Regions from separate parts of the Homo sapiens genome. Here all the other regions are linked to region 3. The links are contacts of gene promoters, found by promoter capture Hi-C in human tissues and cell types (Jung and others, 2019). All regions are on one chromosome and are shown on one strand. Each heading gives the region's core, a stretch centred on a gene start or on the middle of the fragment in contact. The rest is flanking DNA. Distances are from core to core; before and after follow the strand shown.

The links. Contacts are between HindIII fragments. The study calls those that stand out against the background at their distance.
Region 1: the fragment with the promoter of SWSAP1 here is called in contact with the fragment with the promoter of FBXW9 in region 3 in 1 of the 25 tissues and cell types used here (dorsolateral prefrontal cortex).
Region 2: the fragment with the promoter of ZNF653 here is called in contact with the fragment with the promoter of FBXW9 in region 3 in 1 of the 25 tissues and cell types used here (spleen).

The regions. Positions count from the first base shown.
Region 1 is chr19:11,371,997-11,376,158 of GRCh38, reverse strand. It overlaps SWSAP1 (SWIM-type zinc finger 7 associated protein 1), which reads right to left and starts at 1,493. Exons shown (of 2, transcript NM_175871.4): 1 at 1,230-1,493; 2 at 1-646. The coding sequence starts at 1,478. The coding sequence ends at 143. RefSeq lists enhancers at 764-813, 834-913, 1,144-1,193, 1,414-1,483 and a silencer at 1,584-1,663. The HindIII fragment of the contact is 10,471 bases long and covers 1-4,162 here.
Region 2 is chr19:11,503,775-11,507,417 of GRCh38, reverse strand. ZNF653 (zinc finger protein 653) reads left to right here and starts at 1,579. Exons shown (of 9, transcript NM_138783.4): 1 at 1,579-1,930. The coding sequence starts at 1,632. It overlaps ECSIT (ECSIT signaling integrator), which reads left to right. Exons shown (of 8, transcript NM_016581.5): 8 at 990-1,489. The coding sequence ends at 1,234. RefSeq lists silencers at 1,384-1,433, 1,594-2,263 and an enhancer at 2,414-2,483. The HindIII fragment of the contact is 10,042 bases long and covers 1-3,643 here.
Region 3 is chr19:12,694,173-12,698,394 of GRCh38, reverse strand. It overlaps FBXW9 (F-box and WD repeat domain containing 9), which reads left to right and starts at 1,764. Exons shown (of 10, transcript NM_032301.3): 1 at 1,764-2,222; 2 at 3,457-3,596; 3 at 3,673-3,801. The coding sequence starts at 1,814. RefSeq lists enhancers at 1,435-1,494, 1,805-1,854. The HindIII fragment of the contact is 8,232 bases long and covers 1-4,222 here.

The sequences.
Region 1 (4,162 bases), core at 244-2,743, 1.3 Mb after region 3:
AAATATATACAAGATAATGCTATACTTTTAAAAGAGAAAAAGCACTTTACATTGTTTAGGTCTTTGGATCTGCATATGTCCCTGAGGTAAGTATTCCAGCCATGGGAAACTGAAGCACAGAGAGGTAGTCACCCACCAAAGCTCAGGGCTGGCCTCCAGAGCTTGAACCCTTGCCTGAGCTGGGGTCACCAGCCTGGGTGGGCCACGGAGCGATCATCATTTCTCCATCTGATCGGAAAGTCACCCACCACTCTGTTCTGGGGCCCAGCCCGCCTGGCTCCAGGCAGGCTCGGAGGCCGTGCTCTCCTGGACCTGGTGCATCTGGCTGCAGCCAGCACTGGGCAGGAAAATACCGCTGGAGCAGTGCCAGGTGCAGGACGTCCCCACTACCTGCTTCCTCCTGGGTCTGGAGGGCCACCATGAGCCCACAATCCCGGCCAGGCCCAAGCCGGTGGCTGAAGTGGGCAGCTGTGTCTAGAAGTAAGGCAATGAGGTAGGCGGCTTCCTGGGGCTCTGGGTCTTCCGCTAGGTACTCTTCTAGGCCGTCGAGCAGCAGAAGGGAGGGGGCTGGCCCCGGGGCCTCATGGGCAGAGCACAGGAGCCGGAAAAGCTCTCGGGTTGAGGGTGGGTACTGGAAGCGGATCTTCTAGAAGGAGAAACAGAAGGAAAGGGCCGGATTCAGCACAGGAAGCCAGACTCCTTAAAAGTAACCCTGCCTCCTTGCATACTTTCCTTGGTTCCAGGATGAACCAGTTCAGAGCTGTTAAATATTCTTATATTCGCCCGTTTTTCCAGCACTCATCACTGCCGAGTATTAGTTGAGGGCAAGCCATTTTTGCTTGTTTGTTTTTGGCCAAATCTCTAGCGCAATTTTTCCACGGAAAACCCTCCCCCAGCATTCTCGGTCTGACCCCATCCTTGACACTAACAGGAACCAACTCAGGTCCAGAATGGACCCAAGCTTAGCCCCGCCCCTTGATGGGCCGGACTTCAATCTCTGGGCACCGCCTCTTGCTAACACCGCCCATCATTGGATGGGCTCTCACTTCAATCTTAACTAAGCTCCGCGTGGTGCCACTCCTCACTCCGCCTGCCTGACTCCGCCCCATCGTGGCTGCCCTGGCTCGCTCTTCCACCGTCCTCTCCATTGGCTTGTCTACCTGTTACTCAATATCCCGGATCTACTCCACCATTGGCTAGAACGCCTCTGCTCCCACCCCCACGGTTACCTGGAGTCGCATTGGGTCTAGAGTCGTTCCGGTCCCGCGGGGCATGCTTTGAAGAGGCCTTCGTGTCAGGAAGAGGACTGGGCCTTGGCCCTCCCCCGCCGCCTCTAGGGCCGCAGCAAATAGCAGCGCTGTTTTTCCAGATCCTGGTGTACCGAGCAGCAGCAAAGGCGGTCCGGCGGCAGGCATGTTCTCCTCCCCGGACCAGGCCGCACCGCCCCTGGTTAGCACCCGCCTCAGCGTCTCCGCCATTCGCCGCGTAGCTCTGACCAATCGGTGGCTCGTTCCCAGCCTTAGTCCCGCCCAAGCCGTGGCCGCATCGGTACAGTTCACTTAGTTTCTCTATTGGTCTAGGAATCTGTCCATCAAAACTCGATTCCTCAGGTGAATGGGCAAATGGTTAGAACCTATGCGGAGGAATGGGTGCATTCGAGGGAAATAAGACCCTTCCCTGAGGGAGGCTGCTGGGGGAACCAGCACGAATACTATTATTGTCAGCTAATCAGACAAATATAAGGGTTGAAAGTTGGAGGAGTAGACCAGAATGAGTGACATATTATTTAAAGGCTCCTAGCCTCAGTTTGCCCTGCTGTAAAATGGGGCTTATGATATCTCAGAGGAGTATTGTGATCGGCATGTATTTGTGTGTGGTTTTGCTGATGTCATCCAATGACAACTGAGAGTTTTGGAGAGGGGGATGAGCTGTGTGCTTGTCTTTCTGTGCACCTGAGTATGGGCCGGAGTGTGTGTCTGGGGACACAGGCTCGTGGACAAAACATCAACGGCCATCCCCGAAAGTCTGTGAGATGAAGCCTCTCAACTTACTTCCTCACTGGCTAAGGGGTTCTGTGGGGCCGCCTTTGTGGTACGGGGGGAAGGCAGGACCGCAGGACAAAGAAGGAAGCAGGAGAGATAAAGAGACAGGAGCTGGAAGACTGAAGGAGAGATACAGCAGGGACATTGTCTTGTTCACTTCTGTTCTCCAGTACCGAGAATAGCACCTAGCACATTTGTAGGTTCTCAAATACGTGCTCGTTAAGACAATGAAGGAAGGGAGGTGGGATTGATGAGAAACAGGGAGAAAGGGAGGAACAAAGTGAATGATCGTGATCCCTGGCTGGATCTTCTCACCCAGACTTCGCCCCAGAGCTGCCACTCACGCCTGTGTTGCCCTGGCAACCTTGTCTCCTGGTAACTCCAAAGTGGTGCCGTTGCCTGGAGACCCAGGGGCAGGGAGAAAGTGAGATTTCCTGGGCTTTCTCTCTCCCTCTGGGACCAGAAAACAGCTCCACGACATCCCCCAACACACCCACTCACACAGCTGGGCTCACTCACACCCCTCTACACACACACACACACACACACACACACCATGGCATCTCTGAATATATTCTACTTTCAGAATCCCCATCATCCACATGCTCCAACCTTGCCCTATCCTGACACAAAGCATCCCATACAAACTCTGTCCCACATTCATCCCCCACACCCTTTCTCTTGCAAAACACGCAACTATGACATTGCCACTACACACACAGACACACACAGTGAAGCACACCGATACACTGCGCTGTCAAACACGCCACCTCAGCCCCCATCCCCCAGCAGATATACAACGCATGATTCACCTCACATTTCAACACTCCAAATGCACATACAGGCCAGGTGTGGTGGCTTATGTCTGTAGTCCCAGTGCTTTGGGAGGCCAAGGCAAGAGGATTGCCTGAGGCCAAGAGTTCAAGACCAGCCTGGGCAATGTAGGGAGACCCCCATCTCTACAAAATACTTCAAAATTAGCCAGGTGTTGGCCGGGCGCGGTGGCTCACGCCTGTAATCCCAGCACTTTGGGAGGCCGAGGTGGGCAGATCACAAGGTCAGGAGATCAAGACCATCCTGGCTAACACGGTGAAACCCAGCCTCTACTAAAAATAGAAAAAAAAATTAGCCAGGCATGGTGGCAGGCGCCTGTAGTCTCAGCTGCTTGGGAGGCTGAGGCAGAAGAATGGCGTGAACCCGGGAGATGGAGCTTGCAGTGAGCCGAGATCGCGCCACTGCACTCCAGCCTGGGCGACAGAGCGAGACTCTGTCTCAAAAAAAAAAAAAAAAATTTAGCCAGGTGTGGTGGCGTGCACCTGTAGTCCCAGCTCCTTGGGAGTCTGAGGCAGGAGGATTGCTTGAGCCCAAGGAAGTCAAAGCTGCAGTGAGCAGTGATTGTGCCACTGCACTCCAGCCTGGGCAACATAGCGAGACCCTATCTCAACAAAAACAAACAAAAATGCACAAATACTCAGTAGTGACACCCACATCACAGAGTCCAGCACAGTTACATACATGGGAGCATGCTGAATACAGCCTCACCACAAGTCCTTTGCACTTGATGTTCTTGTGTGTGCAGCAGTCAGCTTCCAGATATCCTTCTGGCTTTTTTTTTTTTTTTTTTTTTTGAGATGGAGTTTTGCTCTTGTTGCCCAGGCTGGAGTGCAATGGTGCAATCTTGGCTCATCACAACCTCCGTCTCCCAGGTTCAAGTGATTTTCCTGCCTCAGCCTCCCAAGTAGCTGGGATTACAGGCATGTACCACCACGCCCGGCTGATTTTGTATTTTTGGTACAGACGGGGTTTCTCCGTGTTGGTCAGACTGGTCTCAAACTTCTGACCTCAGGTGATCTGCCCGCCTTGGCCTCCCAAAGTGCTGGGATTACAGGTGTGAGCCACCGAGTCCAGCCGACTTTTTTTTCCCTCCACTCTTTTTAGGTCTTTGGTCAAAATATCATCTACTCAGAGAGGCTTCCCCTGACTGCCTGCCCAAAATTGCACACATTTCACTCTTTAACTGATTATCTGTTTTTGTTGTTATTGTTGTTGTGTTGTTTTGTTTTTTCGAGACGGAGTCTCGCTCTGTCACCCAGGTTGGAGTGCAGTGGCGCGATCTCGGC
Region 2 (3,643 bases), core at 330-2,829, 1.2 Mb after region 3:
CGTAATCCCAGCCCTCCTACAGGCTGAGGTGGGAGGATCACTTGAGCCCAGGAGTTGAGGTTGCAGTGAACTATTATAGAGCCACTGCACTCCAGCCTACATGATAGACCCTGTGTCAAAAAAAAAAAAAAAAAAGGCAAAAACCTGGACAGGCAGGACTTCCAAACATTCCAAACACCACCCAGGATGAGGGGCGGCCTCTGGGGTCAAGGGGTAGGCCCAGGCTGAGACGCAGTCCACTTACACCCTCGTCCTCCGGCCGCACACACTCATTTGCCCCAGGGGCTCCAGACCTGAGGTCACCCAGCCCTGTTGGCCCTTGTTCATTCCCTCCCTCCTACAACTCTGTGCTGGCTACTGGGTGTCACCAGGACAAACCTAGTCCCTCGAGTCAGCAAGGGAACAGGCAAATTACACTTTGGGGAGCTTAGGAGAGGAGCATGCCTTGAGTGGGGGGTCAGGAGGCCTTCCTGGCAGAATACAGAAAAACCAGGAGTCATCGCCCGGGTGAAGTGTGGAGTGGGCAGCCTAGGCAGCGGGGCTAGCTTGTGCAAAGGTTTGGAGGCACAAGAAAGTGGAAGGAAGCCGGGCACAGTGGCTCACGCCTGTAATCCCAGCACTCTGGGAGGCTGAGGCGGGTAGATCATTTGAGGTCAGGAATTCGAGACCAGCCTGGCCAACATGGTGAAACCCCATCTCTACTAAAAATTTAAAAATTAGCCCGGCGTGGTGCTGTGCACCTGTAATCCCAGCTCCTCGGGAGGCCGAGGCAGGAGAATCACTTGAACCTGGGAGGCGGATGTTGCAGTGAGCCGAGATCTCGCCACTGCACTCCAGCCTGGGTGACACAGCGAGACTCCGTCTCAAAAAAAAAAAAAAAAAAAAAAAGGAAGTGGAAGGGAGTGTAAAATACCTCAAAAAGGTGTAGGCATGGGTTAGCCGCTGCAGCCCCCACTGTGCAAACCTTAAGGGTGCATGTCTTCCAACAGTGGAGGAAGGCCCTGTCTTCGCCATGTGCATGGCGGGTGCTCATGACCAGGCGACGATGGCTAAGTGGATCCAGGGCCTGCAGGAGACCAACCCAACCCTGGCCCAGATCCCCGTGGTCTTCCGCCTCGCCGGGTCCACCCGGGAGCTCCAGACATCCTCTGCAGGGCTGGAGGAGCCGCCCCTGCCCGAGGACCACCAGGAAGAAGACGACAACCTGCAGCGACAGCAGCAGGGCCAGAGCTAGTCTGAGCCGGCGCGAGGGCACGGGCTGTGGCCCGAGGAGGCGGTGGACTGAAGGCATGAGATGCCCTTTGAGTGTACAGCAAATCAATGTTTTCCTGCTTGGGGCTCTCTTCCCTCATCTCTAGCAGTATGGCATCCCCTCCCCAGGATCTCGGGCTGCCAGCGATGGGCAGGCGAGACCCCTCCAGAATCTGCAGGCGCCTCTGGTTCTCCGAATTCAAATAAAAAGGGGCGGGAGCGCTGTTGGTTGTGCGCATGCGCAGTTTCCATTCTTGGTCTCCTTTTGGCGCCCTGGGGCAGCGAGAGACCGTGAGAAATTTCTCGGCGGCGCCGAAGATGCGCGCCACTTCCGGTCTGGCTCCTAACAACGGGGGAGGCTGGTAACCAGGGTGGGGGGGATGGCGGAGCGGGCGCTAGAGCCCGAGGCGGAGGCGGAGGCTGAGGCGGGCGCGGGCGGGGAGGCAGCAGCCGAGGAGGGCGCAGCGGGCCGAAAGGCGCGGGGCCGGCCGCGACTCACGGAGTCGGACCGGGCCCGGCGACGGCTCGAGTCCCGGAAGAAGTACGACGTGCGGCGCGTGTACCTGGGCGAGGCGCACGGGCCCTGGGTGGACCTGCGGCGCCGCAGCGGCTGGAGCGACGCCAAGCTCGCCGCCTACCTCATCTCTCTGGAGCGCGGCCAGCGGAGCGGCCGCCACGGGTGAGGGGGCCTGGCCCCGAGGGAGGGAGGGAGGAGACGCCCCCAGACCCCGCCGGGCTTTACCCCGCCCCCTCCGCTTCTAGGGCCAGCCCCCGGCACCTGCGGACCCCGCCCAGGAGCCGGGCCGGCGGCCTGGGTCTCGTACTGCCTGGCCGGGACGCGCCTGGCTCGTGGCCCCGCCTCCCATCGTTCCGACTGCCCAATCCTAGGGTGCACCCAGCCCCTCGACCCGCCTTCTGAGCGCTTGGCCCCGCCCGCTAGAACTCTGGCGGCCCAATCCTGGGACTGGCCCCACCTCCAGGCCTTGTAACTAACCAGGCCCTGGGGGGGCAGCCCCGCCCCCTCACCGGTCTCATCCTCCCCCGCTTAGTTCCCCACCTGGCCTGGGACTCTGGACACCCTGGGGCACTCAGCCCTGCCCTTCTTGAAGTTCTGGTGCCCCATCTGGGACTCCGTATGGCCCCATTCCCACAACCCTAGATCCAACACATCCGGGGGACCCTTCACAACCTGGACTGCACTCCCCTAAACCTATTTCTGTGAAGCAACTCAGCCCAGGGAGACTCGGATGAAGAGGAAACCCCTAGTTAGCTTGGCAGGTGGAGGGCAGAGAGGCCTGTCTTTGTAAATTCTCAGTCTTGAGAAGGAGCAGTGTGGATGGAGTTTTTCCCTTCCTGCCTTATATGTTGATGTGATGATTGAGTTAAAATAGGCAAAGAGCTTAGAAGAGTGCCTGGCAGGTAGTGGGTTCCCTAAGTATTAACTTTTACGAGGATGACGTTTATTCCGTATCACAAGCAGTGCCGCAAGGAAATCCTTGTTCTGCCCTGGTTTTCAGGTACACATGTTCTCATGTTTCTCTGGGGGGAGATTCTGAGAGTCAAGAATCAAACAGATCCTGCTAAGTTATACCCACCCCTTTCCCAGGACAGCAGGCTGGCTTATATGCTCAAGAGCAGGACTGGAAATGCTGGGAGCGCAAAGATACCTGCCTCATGGAGCGGACATTCTGGTGGGCAGAGGGGATGGCTTGTTCAAAGGTCTGGGGGGTTTTTTTGTTCGTTTTTCTTTTCTTTTCTTTTTTTTTGAGACAGAGTCTTGCTCTGTCGCCCAGGCTGGAGTGCAGTGGCACGATCTCCGTTCACTGCAAGCTCCGCCTCCCGGGTTCACGCCATTCTCCTGCCTCAGCCTCCCAAGTAGCTGGGACTGCAGCCGCCCGCCACCACGCCCGGCTAATTTTTTGTATTTTTAGTAGAGACAGGGTTTTACTCTGTTAGCCAGGATGGCCTCGATCTCCTGACCTCGTGATCCACCCGCCTCGGCCTCCCAAAGTGCTGGGATTACAGGCGTGAGCCACCGCGCCCGGCCCTCGTTTTTCTTTTTGAGACAGGGTCTCACTCTCTCGCCCAGAGTGGAATGCAGTGGCATGATCACGGCTTACTGCAGCCTCAACCTCGTGGGTTCAAGTGATCCTCTTACCTCCGCCTCCTGAGTAGTTGGGACCACAGGTGCACGTCACTCCACCTGGCTAATTTTTGTATTTTTTGTAGAGACAGAGGTTTCCCTGTGTTGCCCAGGCTGATTTCAAACTCCTAGGCTCAAGTGATTCTCCGGCCTCAGCCTCTCAAAGTGCTGGGATTACAGGTGTAAGCCATTGTGCCCAGCCCTGTTTGTTTGTTCTTGAGACAGGGTCTCACTTTGTCACCCAGGCCA
Region 3 (4,222 bases), core at 515-3,014:
TGAGAGGATAGAGTATAAAAAGTGGAACTGTGCTAAGTCCTATAGAGAAAAACAGGAAGGCAGAGAGAATGGTGGGGGAAACGGTTGAAATCTTATGTAGGGTGACCTGCAAAGGCCACACTGAGAAGACGATGTTTGAACAGAGCCATGGAGAGAAGAGTGTCAAGTAGAGCAAACAGCAAGGACTGCGCAGATGACCTACGTGGATTGGTTAGCTGCCTGGCTCAAAAGAGGCTTGCAGTAAATACCTGCAGTTTTTTTGTTTGAGACGGAGTTTTGCTCTTGTTGCCCAAGCTGGAGTGCAATGATGCCATCTCGGCTCACTGCAACCTCCGCCTCCCAGGCTCAAGTGATTCTCCTGCCTCAGCCTCTGAGCAGCTGAGATTACAGGTGCCTGCCACCACACCCGGCCAATTCTTTGTATTTTTAGTAGGAAGGGGTTTCACCTTGTTGGCCAGGCTGGTCTTGAACTCCTGACCTCAAGTGATTAACCCACCTTGCCTCTCGAAGTGGTGGGATTACAGGCCTGAGCCACCGCACCCGGCCAACATGCTGTTTTAGTAAGTGTGATGTTAGGCCGGGCGCAGTGGCTCACGCCTGTCATCCCATCACTTCGGGAGGCTGAGGCGGGCGGATCACGAGGTCAGGAGTTTGAGACCAGCCTGGCCAACATAGTGCGACCCCGTCTCTACTGAAAAATACAAAAATTAGCCAGGAGTGGTGGCGCGTGCCTGTATTCCCAGCTACTCTAGAGGCTGAGGCAGGAGAATCGCTTGAACCCGGGAGGCGGAGGTTGCAGCCAGCCGAGATCGCGCCACTGCACACCAGCCTGGGTGACAGAGTGAGACTCCGTCTCAGAAAAAAGAAAAAGGTAGCTTTCCACCAGGCGCGATGGTTCACGCCTGTAATCCTGGTACTTTGGGAGACCAAGTTGGGGGCGGATGGCTTGAGCTCAGGAGTTCCAGACCAGCCTGGACAACGTAGTGAAACCCTGTCTTTACAAAAGAATACAAAAATTAGCCGGGTGTGGTGGTGCGCGCCTGTAGTCCCAGCTACCTGGGGGGCCGAGGTGGAGGATCACTTGAGTCCAGAAAGCGGAGGTTGCAATGAGCCAAGCACTCCGCTTGGAGGACTGAACTGCTGTCCTCCAAGGTTGGGTTGGGGAATGGGGTCTGGAGAGGTAGTTCTGAGGCCCCAGTTCCTTTCTCAAAAAAAAAAAAAAAAAAAAAAAAAGTCACTTAACTGATGCCTCTGCAGTGTAACTGCATATTTCTGGCTCTGGGAAAAGAGGCAAGAGTTCCAATCTCTACTCCTTGAACTCGGAAAGGGGCCTTTGGGTTTCTAAGCTCAGTGTCACATATAACAGATGCCTTCGTTAAAGCAGTGTTTATTTTATGTCTAATTTAAAGAGACAGGGTCTCACTATGTTGCGCAGGTTGGAGTACAGTGGCACAACCATGGCTCACTGCAGTCTCGAACTCCTGGACTCAAGGGATCCTACCCCTTCACCTTCCTGAGTATCTGGAACTACAGGCGCGCGCCACCCCGCCTGGCTTGAGTTTCGTTTTTAGCTAGAGTTGGCTGGCTCTCGGTATCGGCTAGTTTAAAAAGCGCAGAAACAGGAACCTGCATTTTCCAGCCTAAGGCCGACGCAGTTGCAAGAGACCCTGTAAGCGGGGCGATGTTCTGTATTAAGCCAGTGTCTGACTTCGTCGCTTCCGGTGGGCGCATAAACGTCATCAGACAGCGCCGGAAGTGCCCTCGTGCTGCCTAGGAGACAAGACGCGAGGCCGGCAGCGCCCACCCGGTCGCAATGGAGCTTCCCCTAGGGCGGTGCGATGATTCCCGCACCTGGGACGATGACTCGGACCCAGAGTCAGAGACAGACCCAGACGCGCAGGCCAAGGCCTACGTGGCCCGCGTTCTCAGTCCGCCAAAATCCGGGCTGGCGTTCTCGCGCCCCTCGCAGCTATCCACACCCGCCGCGTCCCCGAGCGCTTCGGAGCCTCGGGCCGCGTCCAGGGTTTCGGCCGTAAGTGAGCCGGGCCTTCTGAGCCTTCCCCCGGAGCTGCTGCTCGAGATCTGCTCCTACCTGGACGCCCGCCTCGTGCTCCACGTCCTGTCGCGGGTGTGCCACGCGCTCCGCGACCTCGTGTCTGACCATGTCACCTGGAGGCTACGCGCGCTACGCCGCGTACGCGCGCCCTACCCAGTGGTGGAAGGTGCGCGGGGCCGGGGGCCGGGGACCGGGGGCCGGGGGCGCCCGCCCAGGTCAGGCTTGGGGCGGGGAAGAGGTACATGGGGTGTTCCGGATGCAGCCTCTGGTGCAGGCTTCGTGGCTGTCCTGGCTCAGGCTGGAGGCTAAGGTAGTTACTGGTGGTGCCGAAGCCCCTGAGGACCTCTGGGTGGACCACGAGGCAGTCAGGCACTTGGGGTCCTGAGGCTGTGAAACCCTAACATGGGGCTGTGGTTCCTGGACGACTCAGGATCCAAATATCCTCAGTCTTGGGGTCTTGTGGTACTAAGCCACTGACCCCTGATTGGGGATTGACACAGGGACTTGAAGTCTTAGGCTCTGGAGTTTATGCTGGGGCTCAAAGTGAGCCCAAGGATCCTCAGGTTCTGAGTCCAGCTTAGAAGCTGAGACAGCACCTGTTGATGTCAAAACTCCTGAGCCCTAGAGCCTTGACCCAGTTAGGGGTGAGACAGTGGCTCTTGGCCCTGAGTTGATTGGTTCCTGAGGGAAGACAGCTTGGGACCTTTGAATCGATATTGTTGATCCTGATACAGCTGGATCCTCAGGCCCTTAAGCCAAGATGTATTACAGCTTGGGTGTTTGATACCCTTAACCTGGAAGCTTTGATTCTGCTTAGAGAGGAATCAGGATCACTCCGGGATCAGTGATTCTCAAGGTGTTGCCATCCAACCCCCAGGTCAGACTCTCCCAAACAGCTTAATAAACATAGATGCTTGGACCCCGTCCATATCACAGAATCTGCATCTGGGGCTTGCATTCTGCATCTTGACAAGGCTCCCTGGTTTCCAGATACTGTTTGAGAAACAGCCCCCTTGGTCTGGTTCAGATGGCTGAGGCAGGAAGGGTTAGTCATGAGGTCCCAGCTTCTATGCTGAGCCTGAGGTCAGACCTCAACATCCTGAGACTGCTCTGCCCTGAGTTTGGGTTGGGGGATGGCGCCTGGAGAGGTAGTTCTGAGACCCCAGTTCCCAATTTCTGGAAATTGGAGTGAGTAGTCCTAGACCTGCCTGGGAAATGGGCAGGCAGGTGGTCCCAAGACCACAGCCTGGGTCGGCTTGGGGTGGGAGTAGGGATCTCCATGGGGTTCTGTCCAAGTCTGGTGTAGTGTGGGCTCCCTGGAAGCCAGGGTTGGGCTTGGCCAGCTGGCATGGGTGCTAGGGTCCCTGCCCACTGGGCACCCTACTCGTGGTAACCCACAGAGAAGAACTTTGACTGGCCGGCAGCCTGCATTGCGCTGGAGCAGCACCTGTCCCGCTGGGCAGAGGATGGGCGCTGGGTCGAATACTTCTGCCTGGCCGAAGGCCACGTGGCTTCCGTTGACTCAGTGCTGCTGCTCCAGGTGAGACGGGGTCTGTGGGGGGCCAGGCAGGGTGGGCCAGGGTGGCCCTGACAACATCACCTTGCTCCCTTTCCAGGGTGGGTCACTCTGTCTGTCGGGCTCCCGAGATCGCAACGTCAACTTGTGGGACCTGCGGCAGCTGGGGACGGAGTCCAACCAGGTTCTGATCAAGACCTTAGGCACTAAGCGAAATAGTACCCATGAGGTGAGGAGTCAGGTGGGGATAGGAGGTATGAGGCCTGAGTAGGGCATCTTGGTTAAGGCCCCAGGTTTTGGTACAGGACCGCATAGATTTGAATCTGACTTTTCTAACCTTGGTGTGACTTTGAGTGAGATGTGTGACTTCTCTGTGCCTCAGTTTCTACTTCTGTCCAGTGGGTGATTAGGATGAGGATGAAGGAGATGCATTATGCATTAATGTGGACATGCATTAAGCTCAGGCTTTTTTTTTTTTTTTTTTTGAGACGGAGTCTCGTTCTGTCACCCAGGCTGGAGTGTGGCATGATCTCAGCTCACTGCAACCTCTGCTTCCCGGGTTCAAGCGGTTCTCCTGCCTCAGCCTCCTGAGTAGCTGGGACTACAGGTGCATGCCACCACACCTGTCTAATTTTTTTTTTTTTTTTTTG